Regions from separate parts of the Homo sapiens genome. Here regions 2, 3 and 4 are each linked to region 1. Evidence: promoter capture Hi-C in 16 types of primary human blood cells and fetal thymus (Javierre and others, 2016). All regions are on one chromosome and are shown on one strand. The core of a region is centred on a gene start or on the middle of the fragment in contact, and the rest is flanking DNA. Distances in the headings are between cores, read along the strand shown. Region 1 holds the start of TTC33 (tetratricopeptide repeat domain 33). Region 2 has its middle 190 kb from the start of LINC02104. Region 3 has its middle 200 kb from the start of LINC02104. Region 4 has its middle 89 kb from the start of LINC02104.

The links. The method cuts DNA at HindIII sites, captures the fragments that hold promoters and counts their contacts. A CHiCAGO score of 5 or more calls a contact.
Region 2: a contact is called between a fragment that was not itself captured here and the fragment with the promoter of TTC33 in region 1, in 5 of 17 cell types (M0 macrophages, monocytes, activated CD4 T cells and 2 more). The highest score is 12.9, in M0 macrophages.
Region 3: a fragment that was not itself captured here is called in contact with the fragment with the promoter of TTC33 in region 1 in 7 of 17 cell types (M2 macrophages, monocytes, naive CD4 T cells and 4 more); the score reaches 8.7 in M2 macrophages.
Region 4: a fragment that was not itself captured here is called in contact with the fragment with the promoter of TTC33 in region 1 in 5 of 17 cell types (M1 macrophages, M0 macrophages, M2 macrophages and 2 more); the score reaches 11.2 in M1 macrophages.

The regions. Positions count from the first base shown.
Region 1 is chr5:40,753,781-40,759,026 of GRCh38, reverse strand. It overlaps TTC33 (tetratricopeptide repeat domain 33), which reads left to right and starts at 3,066. Exons shown (of 5, transcript NM_012382.3): 1 at 3,066-3,203. RefSeq lists an enhancer at 3,043-3,192. The HindIII fragment of the contact is 9,414 bases long and covers 1-4,273 here.
Region 2 is chr5:39,705,659-39,711,216 of GRCh38, reverse strand. No RefSeq gene overlaps it. Among named protein-coding and RNA genes, the nearest start is that of LINC02104, 190 kb to the right of the region's middle. The HindIII fragment of the contact is 8,483 bases long and covers 1-5,558 here.
Region 3 is chr5:39,722,028-39,727,796 of GRCh38, reverse strand. No RefSeq gene overlaps it. Among named protein-coding and RNA genes, the nearest start is that of LINC02104, 200 kb to the right of the region's middle. The HindIII fragment of the contact is 3,291 bases long and covers 1,655-4,945 here.
Region 4 is chr5:39,606,830-39,612,586 of GRCh38, reverse strand. No RefSeq gene overlaps it. Among named protein-coding and RNA genes, the nearest start is that of LINC02104, 89 kb to the right of the region's middle. RefSeq lists a silencer at 3,925-4,106. The HindIII fragment of the contact is 1,106 bases long and covers 3,346-4,451 here.

The DNA of each region.
Region 1 (5,246 bases), core at 1,817-4,316:
AAAGAGTGAGACTCTGTCTCAAAAAAAACCCCACCAAAACAACAACAAAAAAAGTACCTAGAAATATAAAATATAGTGCCTGGCCACATTTAAATTGTCAAACATTGTGATTTTTATCTCGACTACATGAGTCTTGATTTCATCTAAAAACCAACCACTTGAATAAAACATGATAGATACAATAAAAGCCAAAGCAACTGCCATTTATCAGTTGCTAACACTTGATTTGGTTAGAATCCTACTACTGTTAGAATTCAATTAATATTAAATATTGTATCCATATGACATGATTAGGCAGGGGCTTGTGCTAGATTGTTGACACTCTGTTATCTTTAAAACAACAAAAGAAAACTGCTAAAGAGTGCTATGAGTAGTATATAAGGTTTTTTTAGGGAATGTATAAATTGCTGTAGGTATTTACCTTGGCTGTACAAGAATTGTCCAAGAAATTCTTGTTTGAAAAATCAGAATTTTTGAACTCTTTTATTTATTGTAAATAAACTATTTACTGTAAATGCCAATAAATTATGATAAATTTAAAGGATTTTGGAAAATGATCATGTTGTCTTAAAAAGACAGCATAAGACATATATTAAATATATTAGGTGAATCAAGATCATAGACCAGTCAGAGTTAGTAGAGAAGTAGTGGGTGAAGTATAAAAACTTAGTGGGAGCTACCCTTAAACACAGTAGAGGAGATCAGGGTTAGGTTACTTGAGAGATTTAGCAAAGACCCCTAGGTAGGGGGCACAGCTTCAAGTACCATTTACTCACTCTGCAACCTCTATTCCTTCTTATTGGCTACTATGAACTAATGACACTATGAATGTGACCATAAGATAAATCTTCCCTCTGCATGTCTTGTTAGGGAGGTACATGTTTTCTTATTTAAGACTTTCATAGACATATATACAGAAAAGTGCACAAATGAGTATTTGGCTTAATGAGTTTTCAGTATTTCAGGTACACAGGAAACATGACCATGTAAACCTCTAGGCAGATTAAGAAACATTGCCACCATCTTAGTGTCTTTCATAATTAATATCGGAAGTGATAAACGGTCACTTCTGCCCTCTTCTGTAGGTAACACAGACCAACCGTGGTACAATATAGGAAGGCAGTGCATAAGGATGTGAATGCCAGGAGTGAATGCCATCTTGGAGGCTGGCTACCGCAGTCATGCATTGATCGTTTTCAAATACTACTGGTTCACTTATGCAGCCTGCACAAATATTGATGTATTTAAGCAAACAATGTAAATAAAAGTCACAACTGATAATCACTTATATCAGAAAATTCTGGAGATACTGGGAAGCTGCCAAGATCATTATGGTGAATACCATTTTTCCAAAATCATATTTTTTTTTTGCCTAAAATCTTGAATTTTATCATTGGCAACAAACTCAATTTTTTTTTCTTTCCTCCCTCCCTCCCTATTTCTCTTTTTTCCTTTCCTTTCCCCTTCCCCTTTCCCTTTCCTTGTTTTTCTTGAAGTTACAGATTCCCTTTGTTCATTTTCAAGAAAGGTTTGTCAAATACCCAAGTCCGAATAACCGGTTTGTCACTCATCTTAGTAAAATTTGTGTTCCAGGAAAAAAAAGTATTTACTTCAGTTTATAATGCCATCTCACAGTAGCTCTTCTTTGATACGTCATACTTCAATATGCAGCAGAAGTACTTTGTGAGGACTTCCAAGTTTTTACAAAGAATATTAAGTGTCGGAGTGGTTATAATAAAGTAACTTTTACAACTTCATCAGGGATATTCTCTGGTGACAGCGTTCATTTTTCCATTTTTTTTTTTTTTTTTGAGACCGTGCCTTGCTCTGTCATCCAGGCTGGAATGCAGTGGCATGACCTCGGCTCACTGCAGCCTCGACCTCCCAGGCTCAAGGGATCCTCCCACCCCAGCCTCCCGAGTAGTTGGGATTCAGGTGCGTGCCGCCAGGCCTGGCTAATTTTTGTATTTTTGGTAGAGATGGGGTTTCGCCATGTTGGCCAGGCTGGTCTCGAACTCCTGACCTCCCAAAGTGCTAAGATTACAGGCGTGAACCACCGCGCCCGGCCCATTTTTCTTACTGTGAGCGTGTGGTGGTGAAGAGCTCCAGTACGGTTTGGTGTCATTACTGTAATTCCTGTGGAGGGGCCAGCACCTTGACCTACCATTGCTTTTCCACCATCAGTGCAAATGTCAGCATTGTGCAAAGGGCAAATCACGTCTTCATATTAGTATGAAAATAATTTTGGCTTTGAAAGGGTGTCATTGACCCTCAGGACAATCGTTGGTCGACATCAGTGGTTCTCAACGGGGCAGGGTGGGAGGGATAGTTTTTCTTCCAGGGGAAATTTCACTGGGGAAACCATTGGCTGTCACAATCGACTGGTGGTGACATCCCGTGGACAGAGACCAGAGATGCTGCTAAGCACCCTACAATGCACAGAACACCCCGTCCCCCAACAAAGCATTATCCAGTTTGAAATGTTAATGGTGCTGAGGCTGAGAAAGTATGACTTCCAAAAATGAGTCTTTTGGGCAGGAGAGTTGGAGAAATTAACAATCTTGATTACCTTTATTACATGTGCTCGTTTATTTTCAAGACATGATGCACAGCTACGTTCTGGCTGTAATTCTGCCTTCTGGGTCCAACTCACTTGTAACTTTAACGTGAAGCCTGCAGTTCAGCCTCGAGCCTCCCTGACTAGCCTCCCCGCCCGGCCGCCTCGAGCCCTTTATAACCGAATTTTGCCTCTCTGTTCTCTGCGTCTGGCCGACCTCATCAGCTAGGCTATAAACCCCTTCGGGGAAGGAGCATATCCTAATCCTTTGAATCCCGTAAAATAAGTTTTCCCCTCACCTTGTTCCCCACTGACGGGACGCGAGGCTGCGCGGTACCGCGGGGGCGGCTCCTCTCGGTGCGCTCTTCAGCCCGCGCAGCCTCATTTTCCCGCGCTCGTGCGCTGCGGTCACTCAGGGCTGCTGCTAGAGGGCGCGCCCAGCCGCGTGGCCCTGACTACTACAAATCCCAGAAGGTCATGCAGTGGGGGCGGCCGCGGTGACTTCTGGGATTTGTGGTCCCGGAGAAGAGATTGGCGGAGGGGAAAGACTGAGTCGTCTTTCCTTTGCCCGCTTCTGTGGACTGTTCGAACGCCCAGGGGTGGGCCAAACCCGTTTCTTAGGAAACCAGGAATCCAGGGAAGGCAGGTAGGAATTTGGGCGTGATAATTTCTGCTTCCAGTGGGAAAGAATGTAAACACGGGGCCTTGGGAGCCGTTATCGGGTAACTGGGGCTGCCCGGTCGGCGGTGGAAGCTGAGGAAGAGGAGGAAAAAGAGGCGAGTGGGTGTTGTGATTAGGGGAGAAAGGACCTTCGGAATAGGAGTTGAAACCCGACGGGATCCGGCAGAGCCTGGTCGCTAGGGTTGGTCTCCAGGGACAAGCGAGTCTGAGGGTCGGGCCCGCCGTGGCACCTTCGCGGAGCTGCGCGGCCGCAACCTTCCCTGAGCGGTGGGACGGGCGGGACGAGCCGGCCGCTCCCCGCTGGAGAGGTGTCTGCGGCCCGGGGCGGTCCGTGAACGCGCAGGTGACGTCCGGGGCAGCCTTTCTGAGCGTTTTTATTATTGTTGACCGATGAAGGGAAAGTCACTAATACTGGTTTTTCTCTTGCGGTGGCGTTTTTGGGTAAATCGTTTCTTGGATTCCTCACCTCTGAATACCTCCTTTTACCCAGAAGGATGCTGTTGTGATTTCCTGATCTTGTTCATGTAGTGGTTTTTCCCTTTGGGTGCTGCATCCTCAGACACACTCAAGACAAGCCCTCTCTGGCGGCTGGGTAAATGTGAAGCCGTCGCCAGTTGTTGAGCGCCTACTATAGGGATCTTTGTAACAGTACAGGAATTTAGAATACAGCGTCGTTGTTTAGAATCGTTATGCCATTCCTGAAATATAATCCTATATAAAAGGTTGAATTTGTCTGGTTTCATGAGTTTAACATGAAACCGGTGTGGATTGTGGTTTACTCTCATGGTTTCTTACTCTGGTAAAAAAATGTTAAGTCTAGGATGTTGAAGCCTCGTGCTTCTAACTAGACTCAGGAAAGCCTCCTTCATAAGAAGTTTTAATTTCATGTTCAGATAGTCATAGAGGAACAATAAACTCGTTCGGCTTAAGATATCTGAAACAACTGGGAATGTTAAATTTTCTAATGCAGAAAGTGCTTTGCATGCTCTAGGATTCACATACCTTTTTAAGCCTGGCTAAGTTTTCTTCAAAGCTTAAGTCCTCCAGAAAGCCTCAAGTGTCTCTTCTCTGATGTCATGGCATCCTTTGTTTACTCTCTTGTAGCACATATCGTGTATGAAATTGACTGTACTCTGTGGTTTCCAGACACTTTTGAAGAAAATATAAAACTTTGCTAATGGCCTTGATAACAGATTCATGCTTTTACACAGTAGTGGGCCCTTGATACTACTGTTTGGTATCTCTATTTTTCCTTTGTTGCTTTTCCTTATCTCCACAGTGACTATTTTAGTCTTTTCCCTTTTTCTCAAGAACTCAGATCTGTTATTTTCCTTTTACTTTGAGCAGATGACTAGCCGCTGTTTGCTGGAGAAATGTGAAGCTTGGGGCATGAAATTCCTCATTTTCCTTTCCCTCCATCCCTGAACTTGCCTGTATGTTTCACTCAATATTAACTCCTTTTTTTGTCTGAGAGGACTGTATTTTTGTCTCCCTCTTTCAGGTTAAACTTGTCGATTGCTAGTGGCATCAGGCCTCCCACACCCTCATAACCTCAGTCTGTCCTGACCTCTGCAGCCCCTGATCTCTAGGTCTCAAGGGATCTGTGGAGGAGAATGGCTCAAACACCTGAGGCAATAGTGGCGTGGTTTTTTCACATATGGTTGAGAGCCACCACCTTGGGCCATAACTTATACTTGTCCCCAGCATTTATAACAGTGGTTTGGGTTGGAAGATGGGGAGGGTAATTGGAATCTGAATGACCTATTAATTTTAAAAGATGTGTGGGTCTGTTTCTCACTTTTTCCTTTCCTTCCCACCCTATCACAGCCCCTCATGTAATCTACAGATCTGATCAACGGTTTTTTTTTTTACTTTTTTTTCTTTTGATCAATGATTTTTATTGTAGTTTACCTCCAGTAAACACACTAGGTGTCCTTTAGTATGAGTAGGGTTCCCACAGTGCCTGGTGCCTCACCTTATGAATAAAGAAAGTTTCATTTGGAATCTT
Region 2 (5,558 bases), core at 2,865-5,364, 1.0 Mb after region 1:
GATATTGGAGCTATTGTGAACAATAACAGCAAACTTGGAATATTCTTGTAAGATAACCAGAAGGTAAAGTACAACTACAAAGCAATACATCAAAAACAATATATCTAACTATGCTAATATTAAAAGATGAGTCAAAATCAGAGAATAATGGAATTGATCAGAGAAAATTAGCTAGAGATGAGTGTTTGGTCAGATCTTAAAGGAAGGAAGAAATATGATTGACTCGACAGAATCAGATTGCAAGAACAATCTCTAATGTGTTAGAGAGATTGAAGAAATTCTTTAGGTAGGAATACTAGGATAATACAGATAAGCCATGAAGATGAAAACTACAGAGTACATAAAGAGAATCTAATGAAATGAGGATGTCTGGTACCTAAGCCCTTGAAAGATGATTTTGATGCTAGCAATACATGTAATCTCTGAAGTAACTCCACTATACAACTTTCCAGCAAAAGGTGACAAAATCCCCTTTCAAGTTGAAAAATTTTAGAATGTTTTAGTTATATAGAATAGAATGCATTAAAATTATATTTTGGCATATACTTGTATTTGTATTTTAAATGAAAATATAAAATCTTAAGTGCTGAAAAATCAATGTAGCATGTTAATACATGGAAGAAGAACAGACACAATTGTTAGAGGAAATACAAGGACTACTACAGTGATCAATAACATGAACAATGAATTGTATATTTCCTTCCAGGCAAAGAAACAAAACCAATGAAGCAATTTACTGAGGAATTACTCTAGTGGGAAAAGATCAAGGGGTTTTAATGTGCTTCAAAGGTGGGGTTCATTATGGTGCTGCTAATTCAGGATTGAAAACCATATCCTGGATAAGACTGAATGAGTTCCTAAGTCAGTATTTAATTGGTTTTTGAAAATTCCTATTGTTTTTTGTTCAGGAAAGAGCCTTCAGTTAGGTCTGCTGAGGTTCTAGTGTACTGATAACTCTCAAAGTTCTTTGTCATTTATCACCTTCAGCTGGAGGGGCTCTCAGCTCGTAGTCATTTTCCAGGTTCAGTGAGTTGTGATGAAATACAGAATTCAGTTTTGGTATCTTTTAGTCAAGTGCTGCTTTAAGTAGAAAGATCTTTTACATAATGTTAAATTATCTGAATTGGATTTCTGTGTGGTTAAATTTCTCTCTTATGTCTTCATCTTCCCCACCTCCTATACCGCATGGTGCAAAACAAATAAGGTTGGCAGAACACAGACCATATCAGGTATAATTTCTGGTAAAGGTACCATGAATAAAACGTCCAGCTATACAGCTACAAGGTTCAATGCTTCACATTTCTATACCTTAAATCTATTATAGGATGGTGTGGAATTATAATGCTTTCCATTTGCTGGAAATGCATGCATTTGCATGCATCTGGAATAATTTGTTCCATCTGTTCTCATACAATTTATTAGATTTATCGAAACCATGAAGTTAAATTTGGATTCCTGGAAAAGGAACTATTAGGAATTAACATGAATTTATAATAATGCTCAATTCTATACCTCTTTCCTTTGACCAGAATAAATTAGCTAGTTTCACATTGCCTAATGCTAACATTTAAAATGTCAGAAAGTATGTCCCTTCCTTATTCAGATTGATGTGGAAATGTAATCTGTAATCAAAAGCACGGTGATTCAACTTCTCCTTACTGGAGAGGCACCAACGATTGATGTCTTCCATAGGGGGTTACATTCCCTTATGATGCTTGCTAACTGGCATTTTGAAATGCCACGTTTCATATATATGCCCTATTTTAATTCAGAGACTAACAAAGTTAAAAAATGCAAGGAATTATATGTCAATAGTCAATACCAAATGCAAGATTTTCCCTTAAATGCCAGCCCATCCACTAATTTTCTACAAGAGACTTAATAAACAAAGTTAATCTGCCTGTGTTACCCACGGACTCTAGCTGTGTAGGCTCAGACAGGCTACTTGGCTTTTACGTGCCTTCGTTTCCTTGTTTGTGAAATAGAGATAATAATAGTATCTGCTCACAGAGTTTTTGTGAGGCATTTGTAATATAATACATACAAAGTTCTAATAATAGAGCCTGACACATACTAAGTACAAAATGTGTTAGCTACCAATATCATTGATATTTAATTTTGTACATTTCGGTGACATCCTACTGCTTATATTACTGCACCATATGACTGTGCAAACAACCCCTCCAGATCAAAAAATAGAAAGAATAATTCTCACAGGCATTGCCTTTTGAGAGATTATGAATAGTCAAGTTAATTTCTTTAACGAAGTATCTGACATAGGAATTTGGGGTATTAATTACTTCCTTAGATGGACCAAGAACAAAGGTAGAAGTAAAAGAATCCCCTTGTTTGACACATCCTGATCACTAGCTATGCATATTTTTGAAGGAATTAGTAGAATTAAGGATGACACTTCTTTTTTATGCGTTCCTTGACCTTTACATTTTTCAAAGCCAAGCAAGTATTACAGGTTGAGCATTCCTAATTTAAAAATCTGAAATCCAAAATGCCCCTAAATGTGAAACTTTGAGTGCTGGCATCATGCCCAAAGTAAATACTCACTGGAGATTTTCAGACTTCAGATTTTCAGATTAGGAATGCTCAATCAGTAATGAAAATATTCCAAAATCCCTCCAAAAAAGAAATGGCGAATACTTCTGATCCCAAGCATTTTGGATAAAGGATATTTAACTAGTACTTCCGTAGCAAAAAGAAAAGCAAGCAAACAAAAACCCTGACAATATTTTATAAATATTTTATAAAGGAAAAAGCTAAAGAACGCGTTATTTTGATAATAATCTCATTCAAATTTGAACTTCAAATTCTTTGAAAATAAAGTTTTATGACTTTAGAAAATAAGTTTTAGTTTTCTAAGTCATTTAAAAGCTGCAAATCATTATCTGATAATATACATAAACTAAGAGTAGCTACAATGACTTGAAAAATAAATTCATTTTCTCTGAAAAACTTGTTCAAGGCTGATCTTAGGTAATGTGAGAGACATTTGCTTCAGCAACACACTTACAATAAGGTGAATACAATGTATGAATATTAACATTAATATCTGTTAGTACTCAAATCTTGATGCTACCAATCCCTACTTGTCTATTGATTGAGAGCATCTCTTTAAATGCATGTATCTGAGGTTTCCCAAGGATGCGCATAAACCTTATCTGATCAGTTCTCTGGCCTTTTGCCCCTTTTGCTACTGATGATGTTCCCAGTCTCTTTTGACTTCTTTGCCACGGCACCAACTTGGACCTGAAATCTACTCCTGAACCATTACTAACATCACCACTCTTTCGAGATGATGCTCAATTTGGGGAAAGGCCCCACAGCAAAAGACATACGTACCTTAAAATCTCTTGGTAGTTAATGATAAGAGATTTTCCCATTTGCCACACAACTAGACATGACAGATTCTCATGGCCCCAGACACCCACTGAGAGAGGCAGCTTAAGTGAGTTGCCAGTTTCCTTGACCTTGAATTACCACCACAACTGTCACCTCTGCTTCTGTGGTGAAGTCCTCATTTACCCAGGCATCAGTATTACATGTGGTGAGATGAATATTTGCCGCATATCTATTGTGTTCATATATCTATTCTGCTCAGCCAGGGGATACCCCACAGCAAAGGTTGCATGAACCTGAAAATGTTGTAGCTTTTTCTATGCTCACATTCTTAGCCACTAAGTCCCAGGCCATGCAAACACCCCCACAGTACCCTACTGGGATAAGTTTCAAAATCAGTTATGTTCTCATACCAACAGGACCCATTGCAAATTGGGGACTCACAATTCTAGACTCTTCCTCCCATTTGGGGTCCTATTGTCCTTTTCTGTGCTCTGGGCACTGTTGGGGTCACTCAAGTTGATCAGACATGTTTTGTATACCATTTCTTAGTATGTTAATGTGAGTTGCGGTCTCTTTCCCCCACCCCAGGAAAGCAACTCCTCTGAAAATCCATAGATTAAAATAGATACGGCATGTATCCACTCTTACAGACATAAGAGTATGAGTTCCTGTCCAAATTTTGTAAAGAAAAATTTCTTATTTTTTCTTTATTTATTTCTTTGTTTTTGAGATGGAGTCTTGTTCTGTCACCAGGCTGGAGTGCAGTGACGATCTTGGTTCACTGCAACCTCCGACTCCCGGGTTCAAGCGATTCTCCTGCCTCAGCCTCCCAAATAGCTGCGATTACAGGTGCGTGCCACCTCACCCGGCTAATTTTTGTATTTTTAGTACAGACGGGGTTTCACCATGTTGGCCAGGATGGTCTCAATCTCCTGACCTCGTGATCCGCCCGCCTCGGCCTCCCAAAGTGCTGGAATTACAGGCGTGAGCCACCGCGCCCGGCCTTTGTAAAGAAAAATTTCAAAGAAAAATTTTATGAGTTTCAGTAATGTATTCCCTTCCCAAGAAATGAGGTTAAGGTACCTGCTTTTCAACCTCTTTCAATTTTTTATGTCCCAGGTAGAAAAAGGTGTTAAAATTCATGGACCTAAGGGTGGTCAGCTAGCTGTATAGGCATGGCCTTTTAAAGGTCTTACTTAAAGTTATTGATGTTTCTGACTTTTTGTTTGTAATACCATTATTTGCAGAGGTAATGAAAAAAGTCCATATATTTATATCTTTTTATTTAAAAAAATACCTAGTTATAACATTGAAACAGTATAGGACTATATAAGGTAAAAGTATGAGAAAGAGAGAGAGAGACAGTTAGAAAACGCACAGGAAAATCATGGAGCAAATATGCCAAAGTACTAGCAGTGGTTTCCTTGGAGATGTTGTTAAAAGGGACATTTGGGGAAATTTTCATCCTTCCTATAATTGTAAATTGGTGTGATTGAAGCTGAGCTTTACTCTTTTGGTAATTTAAGAAAAAAAAATGTAATTTAAAAAAACACTGACTTGTTTGCTCCTTTAGGATACACATTTTTACTTTTTGAATGGCACTCTGTACTGAATAACTTCTCTAAATTTTGAAGTGACAGAAATAACAGCAACAATTTTTTTTTGAGACAAAGCCTTGCTCTATCACCCAGCCTGGAGTGCAGTGACTTGACCACAGCTCACTGCAGCCTCGACCTCCCCATTTCAAGTGATCTTCTTCTGTCAGTCTCCCTGGTAGCTGGGACTGCAGGTATATGCCATCATGCCTGGCTAACAGTTTCGGTTTTATAGAGGTGGGATCTCACTGTGTTGCCTAGGCTGGAGCAACATCTTTTACCACAGATTATTTTCATTGTAAACATTTTGTTATTCACTAATGTGTTATTCCTATAGACTAGTTTTTCTGTTCTTGCATGTTTTCCTCAAACCAACTCTCCAGTGAAATCAAATTCAGTTGGCTTATCAGAAACTAAAGTTCTCTGTGTTCCAAATGAGAAAGGAGCCTCTTTCCTATAAATTCAAAACCCAGTTACATTATGTACAAAATGTAGTCAAATATGAAATAAAATGTTTTAGATACTCTGTTTGATTTTGTGGAAACAAGATACTTCACCGATTTCAAGATGACTATCTTGAAATAGATTTAATTTCAGATTTCATATGAA
Region 3 (5,769 bases), core at 2,051-4,550, 1.0 Mb after region 1:
TATTTTAATATCTATAAGCTTTGAGAAATCATGTTGACAAAAATAATTATATGGTAATTGAAAGAGTTGTATTATAGCAAATTCATTTATTTATTCGAATGTCTTTGAATTGCATGCCAAAAATGACACTGAAGGAAAACCTAATTGAATTCTCAGATGATATATTATTAAAAATATTTGTTGATGATGGATGACTATGGTATTCATGCTTTCAGTTTCTATAATGGACATTTTAAGAATTATCAAATGACTATTAATTCTATGGATTGCTTATTTCCATATTTAACCTAATAAGCTCAGAACACTTCTGAAAATCAAAATGTTTGCATGTATTACATATTTACCAGTGTAGTATTTCTCATAAAATAATATGTATGTAAAATATATTTTAATTAAAATCTTGGTGCTTCAGCGTTAGCATATTCTACTTACAAAAAATATTTTTCCTATTATTTAAATTGGTGTATCAAATCCTCATTGTGTTCCAAACATACAGATTAGTCTTACTGAATTTTAGATAATGAATTTATTTTTAATTTCTGATAAGTGTTACTAAGATGTCTATCTCAAGAAGTCCCATAAAAACACTAAGAAAGGAATTGTAGTATGTCATAAAAGATATATTACCAAAAAGCAGTCAAGATTAGAGATGTAGAAATAATTTAATAAATTTATCAAATTTTATAAATTATAAAAACAAGATATTATTCTGTTTTACATGCTCAATTTATAATGCAGTCTCAGTAAGTATAATTATTATTTATAATAGAGAATGATAAAAAATATGTTACATCTTTAATAAACATGAGTACAATATAAAATTTTAATGTTTGGTTTATGGGCATAAACAAGTAAAAATTTATATTTTTAGTGACAAAAATTTTTACTGATAAAAATCAGTAATAACTCCAATAATTGCATAAAACATCATGATAAAACTTTTCCTATGTACTAATATGTAATATTAGAAGTGTATGTTAGTATGTAATAATAGAACATAACAGAAAAATACATCGTCTCATGTAACTTCTTTTTTGTTAAATAGAAGGTAGACAATATTAAATATTTTATGACATAAGATGAACATTCATTATAATTAAAACAATACATCAAGATATGATTTGACTAGGTCAGCTTTATTTACCTTATTGGTTAATATGCACTAATGCTAAAAGAAATTACATGTAAGTTTTATCCTTGGATTTTATCCAATGTATATTGAAAATTTTGATAGTCTTCAAGAATATCTAGTGAGAGACTAACTATATGAATTAACATAATAACTAATGCTGCTTTAATACTCTAAAGATAATTTCTAAGATAAAATATTTTAAAGATGAATACAATATTAAGAATTTCTGAAGATAATTGCTTGACTTTAAATATGTTTTTTAAAATTTTGTGTGCATTCAATGTCTCTCTTTTATGCTATCTTACTTTTGCTCTTGGTATCCTCTTTTAAGAATGATGCACTCTTTGATTTTTTAAATGATTACTTATACCTGTCCACTCCACCATTTGATTAAATTCAAAACTTTTCCTAACAGAGCCAAAATGCCCTTCTGTCGATGCTATATTTCACCATTAAGAAAACTATTTATAAGAGAAGAGGCCTTCAAGATGCATGTGTCTTGTTTAAACATTACAAAAAGCTTTCTTTTGTTTTTTTTCTTGGCAACCAAGTGATTTTTCATATAACCTGGTATGGTGAAATATATGGAAGTTAATTGAATTGATAGATTTCCTTAAATCTATCATTGCTGGAATATCCCTGGGAATATCTTCTACAGTTTGAATATGATTGTGTTAGAGTAACTGGGTGAGGTAGTGAGCGATTTATCTACATAGAATAGTTGGAGAAAGGCTCACAGGCCAAGGCATGTGAAATGAAGCATGACATACGAAAGGGGAGCTGAGATGCCAAAAGCTGGGTTGAAGAACATTTTAAGCAGATGAAAAGTACATATGAAGGTCCTAAAGTATGAATGAACTTGGCTGGCTTAAAGATAAAAGACCAGTGTGGGTGGACAGAAGCAACTGAGAAAGAGAATTGAGGTTGAGAAGGAATACAAAAGTAGCTATGCAAAAAAAAAAAAAAAAAAAAAAAAGTTTGCATTTAGGTCAAAATAAAAGAATTCATAGAAAAGTTTAAAGCATAAGAATTTTAGAGTCTGAGTTACATTTTTAAAATGGATTAAAGACTTTAAGATATAACTCTGGCTCCAACATGAAGAATCCATTACAGGAGGCAATAGAGGAAGCATTGTGAAAGTGTTAAGTGAGAAATAATGATGTATTATTAGGCAAGGGAGATGGGCAGAGGCAGAATTGAAATTCACTTTTGAGATATAGTCAACATGATTTGCAGATGAACTGAATTTTCTTTTTTTTTCCTTTTTTTTCTTTTTTCTTTTTTTTGTTTTGTTTCGTTTTTTGAGACGGAGTTTCGCTCTTGTTGCCCAGGCTGGGGTGCAATGGCACGATCTCAGCTCACCGCAACCTCCGCCTCCCGGGTTCAAGCGATTCTCCTGCCTCAGCCTTCCGAGTAGCTGGGATTACAGGCATGTGCCACCATGCCCAGCTAATTTTGTATTTTTAGTAGAGATGGGGTTTTTCCATGTTGGTCAGGCTGGTCGTGAACTCCCGACCTCATGTGATCTGCCCACCTCGGCCTTTCAAAGTGGTGGCTGGGTGAGCCAACACGCCCAGCCAGAACTGAATTATCAAAGTATTAAAGGGAGAGAAATAGTGATGAGTACCCTGGAATTTGGATTAACGTCACTGTCATTTATTGAGATGAAAATTCCTGGAGAATGAAAATTCATAAGGAGGAATTTCATTTTGAGCATGCTAATTTGCTATGAAATTAATATAGATTAAATATCTTATTAAAAATAGATCTCGGGCCGGGCACAGTGGCTCACGCCTGTAATCCCAGCACTTTGGGCGGCTGAGGCGGGTGGATCACGAGGTCAGGAGATCGACACAAGCCTGGCTAACACAGTGAAACCCCGTCTCTACTAAAAATACAAAAAAATTCGCCAGGCATGGGGGCGGGCGCCTGTAGTCCCAGCTACTTGGGAGGCTGAGGCAGGAGAACGGCATGAGCCTTGGAGGCCGAGCTTGCGGTGGGCCAAGACCGCGCCACTGCACTCCAGCCTGGGCAAAAGTGCGAGATTCCGTCTCAAAAAAAAAACAAAAAAAAAACACCTCATATTGAATTAATAATAAAGCTCAAAAGTTTAAGAAATATACCTAAATCAAAATAGTAATAAAATGTTAAAGTAAATAGGTGGATTAAAATACATCTGAGAAACTCAAATAGGAACAGTGCAGTTCTACTAAACATTAACACAGAATCCAAGGTAAGAGTCATTAAATTAGTGGCTATATTGCATTGACATGTTCCACTATGAGCTTTTTTGCACCTATAATTATAACATACACCTCTTAAAAACTATTAATCAAGGACACAAAAAGTACATATAAAATAATTTGTAATACTATTAACTGTAAATTTAACTTTATTATCCACATTTTTAAGTATCCATTGGCATACGGAGAAAAATATACACACTGAATCACAAAGAATATCTCAAAAAATTGTAAAATGTCAAATTTACAATTATCTATTTTCCGACAAATACATACAAAATATATTTCAGTTAAAAATAAATAACAAAAGCACAACCACTAAGTCTCATTCACCACTATACATACATTACAATTTAGAAATTAAAAGTATTCCATAGTAAATTTTGGATTAAAAAGAGAATAACAAATCAAATTATAGACTATGATGGAATAATTAAGTATTGCATAGTAACAGAGGTGTTTCTATTAAAATCAATGGGGAATAAGGATTCTTGTAAATAGTATTAGTAATATAATTTTAGAAGTTCTAGCTGTAAGGCATGAAAAAAAGTCAACATAGCTAGTGTAAAGAATAAAATAATTTAGTGTGGAACAAATAAGTTCCTTTTAGACATTTTTGGAAAGGTTTTCTATTTTAAAAAATAAATAAATTTTAAATATATATATGTATGTCTACATGCACACACAATAAAATTAGATCTCCCTTTACAACTACATTGAAATAAACTATAAATGGATTAAATATTAAAATTTTAAGCCAAATTAAATCCCCCAATACTAAAAATTATACAAAAAGTTATACACTTGACTACATATAAAGTCAAAATTGTTTTAGTGTTAAAAATTAGAAGCTACTTTAAAAGACAAACTAGTAAAATATTCAAAACTCATATAATAATGTTTAGCATACTTATTCTTTGTTAAAAAATAATTATTTTAAATATCTATTAGCCAAAAGGACAGAACATGTGGATTCAGTTAAATAGATTACAGCAAAAAAACAGAAGAAATAAAACTGGTTGTTAAACAAGAAAACATATTTGATCTCACAAGTAATCAAATAAATTCATAATAAAATAATGACATACCAGATTTTGGCCTATCAAATTTTCAAAGAACAAAATGGTGAAGAAACTGTGAACCTGAATTCTGATGAAATGCTGCCAAGAGTGTAAATAGATAAATACTTTCAGGGAGGTAATTTTCTATTATGTATCAAGATTTTTAAGATAAGTAACGTGAATTTGATAAAGTATTTTTACTTCTAGTAATCCCTCATTAAGAAATTATTACTGATATGGACAATAGAAATCTATGCAATGATGTTCATATGGGGAAACGTGTGGTATAGGTGAAAACAAAGGATACTTACAGGAATATCTCACTTTATGGTACTTCACTTTATTGCACTTCATAGATACTGCATTTTTTGCAAACTGGTTTGTGGCAAGTCTGTGCTGAGCAATTTTATCAGTTTATCAGTGTCATTTCCCAATGCGACACAGAGACGGCATTTGTACACTCTGTATCTCTGTGTCACATTTTGGTAATTCTTGCAATGTTTCAAGCTTAATTATTATTGTTGTATTTCTTATAGCGATCTGTAACCAGTGATCTTAAAGTTACTATTGTAATTGTTTGAGGGCACTACAAACCACTCCCATATAAGAAAGCAAACTTAATTAATACATGTATGTGTTCTTACTGCTCCACAGACCAGTCATTCCCCTATCTCTATGCTTCTCTAAGATTCTCCCTATTCCCTGAGATACAACAGTATTGAAATTAGGCCAATTAATAATCCTACAATGGCCTCTAAGTGTTCGAGTGAAAGGAAGAGTCACGTATCTCTCACTTTAAGTAAAAAGCTATAAATGATTAAGCGTAGTGAGGAAGGCATGTCAAAAGCCAAGACAGGTTGTAAGCCAGGCCTCTTGCTCCAAACAGTTAGCCAAGCTGTGAATACAAATCAAAAGTTATTGGCAGAAATTTAAAGTGCTACTTGAATGAACACACAAATGATAAGAAAGTGAAACAGCCTTATTACTGACATGCAGAAAGTTTCAATGTTCTTGACAGAAGATCAAGCCAATTATATAACATTCTCTTGAAACAAAGCCTAACCCAGTTCAAACTCTCAATTCAATGAAAGCCCAGAGATGTGAGGAAGCTGTAGAAGAAAGTTGGAAGCTAGCAGAAGTTGGTTGATGAAATTTAAGGAAAGAAGCCATCTCCATAACATCAAAGCACAAGATAAAGCAGCAATGCTGATGGAGAAGCCGCAGCAACTTATTCAGATCTAGCTAAGATAAATGATGAAGATGAATGCACTAAACAGATTTTCAATGTAGATGAAATAGCTTCATATTGGAAGAAGATTTCATCTAGGTCTGT
Region 4 (5,757 bases), core at 2,649-5,148, 1.1 Mb after region 1:
AACAATAAATTCTTTAGGCAGGCTTGAGCTTTCTTAGGCCAGTATTTTAAGTGGGGGCTAGAGTCATCCTAGGGGTGCAGCCTTGAGCAGTTAGGTTAGACAGACTTTAGCTGGTAACTGTTAGAACAAATACTGTGTTAGTGTTTGTTCAAGTCTCGTATTTGGTGGGGGAGGTAGGAAAGTGTAGACAAAATTATTTGTGCTGAGAGTCTGCAATTTTCATAAGCCAGATTGAGGCCTAGTTGAGAAGAGGACTCAGAAGCCCTTGGCTAGAGTTTGATTAAAGAGAAACTACAACACATTGAGCAGAAGAATCCTTCAATGCCACAGAATGACTTAGCTTCTGGCCTCTTGCTCTGACCTTTCATCATGATTACAAATATATCCCCAACAGTAGTGACATCTTCAGCCAGGCTACCAGAATGAAAAGATATACTGAGCTAAATCTAGCCCAGCAGAACTTAGTAGAGCCCAGCAAGGCCTGGGAGAGCTAAGTAGTGTCCAACAGGACTAAAAAGGGCCTTATGAAATGTAGCAGAGCCCAGTGGAACCAGAGAAGTCCATCAGAGCCCTGTAGAGTCCAGGAGAGCTGGAGATAACCACAGCAAGAAACCACTGTTGTTACTCATAAGCCATGATATTAGGGTTATATACTATTGTAGCAAAAACTGACTGATATGCCAAAAAATTGTTATTCTGGAAGATGTGTATTCATTTCATCCTCTCCTCTCTTTCAGTCAGAGATAAACTACATCTACCTATTCCCAAAAGGATTCATTAAAACAAAGAAAATACAACTGTAATTAGGTCAGGTCTACTTTTCTCCCAACTTCCCCAAGTAATGAATAGGAGAAGGAAAGAAAAAAAGAAATAGAGACAGAGAGAAAGAAAGAGAGAAGAGAGAGAGAGAGAGGGAGGGAGGGAGGAAGGAAGGAAAGGAGGGAGGGTGTGGTGGCTCACGCCTGTAATCCTAGCACTTTGAGAGGCCAAGGCGGGCGGATCACGAGGTCAGGAGATCGAGACCATCCTGGCTAACATAGTGAAACCTCGTCTCTACTAAAAATACAAAAAATTAGCCAGGCATGGTGGCCGGCGCTTGTAGTCCCAGCTACTTGGGAGGCAGAGGCAAGAGAATGGCGTGAATTCGGGAGGCGGAGCTTCCAGTGAGCGGAGATCACCCCACTGCACTCCAGCCTGGGCGACAGAGAGAGACTGCATCAGAAAGAAAAAGAAAAAGAAAAAAGAGAGAGGGAGGGAGGGAGGGAGGTAGAGAGGGAGGGAGAAAGAGAGAGGCCAGGCACGGTGACTCACGCCTAATCCCAGCACAGTGGGAGGCCGAGGTGGGCGGATCACCTGAGGTCAGGAGTTGGAGAACAGCCTGGCCAACATGGTGAAATCTCATCTCTACTAAAAATACAAAAAATTAGCCGGCGTGGTGGTGGGTGCCTGTAATCCCAGCTACTTGGGAAGCTGAGGCATGAGAATCACTTGAATCCAGGCAGCAAAAGTTGGCCGTGAGATGAGACTGCACCACTGCACTGCAGCCTGGGTGACAGAGCAAGACTCCATCTCAATAAAAAGAAAAAAAAAAAGAAGAAGGAAAGGAAGGAAGGAAGGGAAGGAGGGAGGGAAGGAAGGAAGGAAGGGAAGGAGGGAGGGAAGGAAGGAGGGAGGGGAAGGAAGGAAGGGAGGAAGGAAGGGAGGGAGGGAGGGGAAGGGAAGGGAAGGGAAGCCAGGGAAGGGAGGGAGGGAAGGAAGGAGGGAAGGAAGGGAGGGAAGGGAAGGGAAGGGGAAGGCAGGGAAGGCAGGGAGGGAAGGAAGGGAGGGAAAGGAAGGGAAGGGAAGGGGAAAGCAGGGAAGGCAGGGAGGGAAGGAAGGGAGGGAAAGGAAGGGAAGGGAAGAGGAAGGCAGGGAAGGCAGGGAGGGAAGGAAGGGAGGGAAAGGAAGGGAAGGGAAGGGGAAGGCAGGGAGGGAAGGAAGGGAGGGAAAGGAAGGGAAGGGAAGGGGAAGGCAGGGAAGGCAGGGAGGGAAGGAAGGAAGGAAAGAAGGAAGGAAGGACAGACAGAGTGAGGGGACATCTTTCATGTGGAGCATTTTTTTATAAAAAAGAATAAAAGCTACTTTGGGAGGCCGAGGCGGGCGGATCACAAGATCAGGAGATCGAGACCATCCTGGCTAACACGGTGAAACCCCGTCTCTACTAAAAATACAAAAAAATTAGCCTGGCGTGGTGGCGGCCTCTTGTAGTCCTAGCTACTCCGGAGGCTGAGGCAGGAGAATGGAGAATGGCATGAACTTGGGAGGTGAAGCTTGCAGTGAGCCAAGATTGCGCCACTGCACTCCAGCCTGGACGACAGAGCGAGACTCCGTCTCAAAAAAAAAAAAAAAAAAAAAAAAAAAAAAAAGGAATAAAAGCTTTTAAATTCCCTTGAGGTTAGATAACTATCATCAGCAATAAGTATTGATCAGAATATATCCAAATTTGCTTTTGTAACTTATAAATTCTTCACAAGTTGACCCAAAACTTATTTCCTTCTCTGCTCCAGCAGCAAAGAACTACCCACCATTCCTCAAACGGTTTTTCCTGTCTAGGAGCTTTGCACATATCGCTCCCTCTGCCAAGCACGCCTACGATTGCATTTCTCTCTACTGTATAGACTATTCCCATTCTACACAGTGCAAGCCAAAAGTGCCCTCCTCTGTGAGACCTTTCTCAATTTAGTTGTTCTCCAATGTCCCGAGCATGTCCATATTCCTTAAGTCCTGCCTCTACCTCAAGAACTGTCATAATTCCAAGTCTCTCCAATGTCCGTGTGGTTGGTTGTATCATCCAACAAGCTAGTTTTATGCTTCTTTGACTTCCTAAACTCCAATCATATTCACATTTATTTTATATCATCCACCCTCATCCAGGGCAGCAACATTACTTGCTTCACCTCTGAAATCTTATATTCTAATATCTTCTTTCTGACTCTACTTCCTCCTCTCTCAATCCCAATGTAACAACATTTTAATCTCATTAAATGTTGACCTTCTGTGTTTGATTATTCTGTTAACACCATCCTGGCTATTGTCACATCCCATCCTTGCCAAGTGTCAACCCCATGGTGCAAATCTATAGGTATCTGAAGGTGCAAATCTGAAGGTATAGGCAAAAACATTTGCCTAAACCTTCAAATGCTTTTATTTAGACACGTTCACCCTACAAATTTTCAGCCAGTAATTCTGTAATTTGCCTCATTTTGTTGTAATATAATGTTGTGAGGATTTTAGGAGAAAAACCATAATTTTTTTTAACTTAGGATACTCTTACCTGCAAGCAATGAAAAATACAAGTGAAAAGCTTTGAATAAGAATGTTTACTATCTCTTATAACAAGAAGTCCAAAGGAATAGTGCTTCTAGGGTTGGTTAATCAATTGTTATCTTGGCTTGATTTGGGCTCATGCCTTCAATATTGCAAAGTGACTGCTACTGTTCTATGTATCACAAGCAGTTATGACAATATTCAGACAAAAAGACAGGAGTTTGCTCCTATTCATCTGTTTGAATAAGGTGAAAATCTCTTCCAAAATTCCTACAGGGCATTTCCCCTAGGGTTTCAGTGGCCAGGTTTGGATCATAAGCTCTTGATACAAATGCAAAGGAGGCTGAGAAAGCAAGGATCTAACATTTTTGTAGGATTTCGGCTTTGTCATTGATATAATTAATATTGATGCTTATAAATGTATAGTCTCCATCTAAACTGGCCCTTCAATGCTGCCTGACAGTAGTTCTGCTTGGCCCAGTGCTTCTAAAACTTTAATGAACATGCAAATCACCTGTGGATATTTAAAAATGCAGATTGGTAATCCCAGCACTTTGGGAGGCTGAGGCGGGCAGATCACGAGTTCAGGAGATCGAGCCCATCCTGGCTAACATGGTGAAACCCTGTCTCTACTAAAAAAATTAGCCGGGCATGGTGGTGGGTGCCTGTAGTCCCAGCTACTTGGGAGGCTGAAGCAGGAGAATGGCGTGAACCCGGGAGGCGGTGCTTGCAGTGAGCTGAGATCACACCACTGCACTCCAGCCTGGGCGACGGAGTGAGACTCCATCTCAAAAAAAAAAAAAAAATTAATAAATAAATGCAGATTGGATTCAGAAGGTCTGGGAGGGGGCCTGAGATCTGCATTTCTATCAAGCTACTACAAAGGGATGCCAAATTTACTTGACTGATAACCACACTTTCAGTTACAAGACTCTTTCCACTTCTACTTCAAATATTCTTCTTCACGCTCTACTAGCCTAGCATCATCCCCATTACTCTTAGGAAATGACCTCATTCCTTATTTCACAAAAAATTACAAAACAAAACAAAACAAAAAAACCTCATAAGACAGAGAACTCTCGATTTAAGAGGTAACACTTTATGAGCACCAAGAGAATTGGCCTTGTCATTAAACAGTTGAAGCTTCCAACTCCGGATATACCACTTACTCTCCTGCGATATTTCGCAATATCTTAACCTTTCTGAGTCCCAGTTTCTTAAGTTATAAAATGAAAATAGTAATGCCAAAATCTTGGTATTTTTGAGGATTAAGTGAGATCATGTAAATGTGTTCCATTTAAGTGTTTTTTTGTTTTTTGTTTTTGAGACAGAGTTTTGCTCTTGTTGCCCAGTCTGGCAATGGAGCAATCTCGGCTCGCTACATTCTCTGCCTCCTGGGTTCAAGCAATTCTTCTGCCTCAGCCTCCCGAGTAGCTGGGATTACCGGCATGCGCCACCACACCTGGCTAATTTTGTATTTTTAGTAGAGACAAGGTTTCTCCATGTTGGTCAGGCTGGTCTCGACCTCCCAACCTCAGGTGATCCTCCTGCCTCGGCCTCCCAAAGTGCTGGGATTACAGGTGTGAGCCATTTAAGTTTTTTAAGAATAAACAACAAAAACAACTAACACAAAAAAAGAACTGGAAGGATATTAAGTGATACATTATTTGACATCTGTTTTGACTGTAAAGGAAAACCTAAAATAAATTTTTCTCAAGCAAGTTAGTAACTCATTACTCTCTCACATTCAAGGGTTTGGAGACATCCTGTCAAGACTATCATGGCACTCCACAGTGCCAGGAACTCAGGCCAGGATTATTCTACCTACTAAGGATATATAATATGTTTCAAGCAGACTTGGAGATGGACTCAGTATTCTACTGGGCTTACTGTGAAATAGAATTAGATCTAACCTACATCTATCAGCTCACTTCACAAGGCTCCACTTTTCCTGATTGGCTGTGTTGTTCTAGGTCTCAGGAACCAGAATTGATTAAGAGTCTGTGACCAATTCAACCCAAAGGTAGGTTCCTTTTCCCAGTGCGTGTTTACTCTGATAAATGGATGCATTAGAGAATAGTACAAAGAAAATTTACAGAAAGTACTTATGAAGTGAATGATCCATCCTGCTCAACTTCTTTCTAATTGAAGGGATGCTAGGTCTGGATTTTGGGTGAAAGATTTTGACTTCATATCATGATAGCTCATGTCAGGTCTCTGGAGGTCAGATTGGAGTCCTTTCAGTTATACTGAAATCAAGTTTAACACTGGTGGTTTACGTATATATTTCAGTCCTATGTTCAGATTTCTCTCATTACTACTATATGCATTCTGTCTGCTTTGATAAGCATAGCCCATCCACTGTCTGGGGTTTGGAACTGAATTTGTGTCTGCAGCTTGGGATTATTTCCTCCCATTAAAATATGAATACCAACTTCAATAGCATTCTCT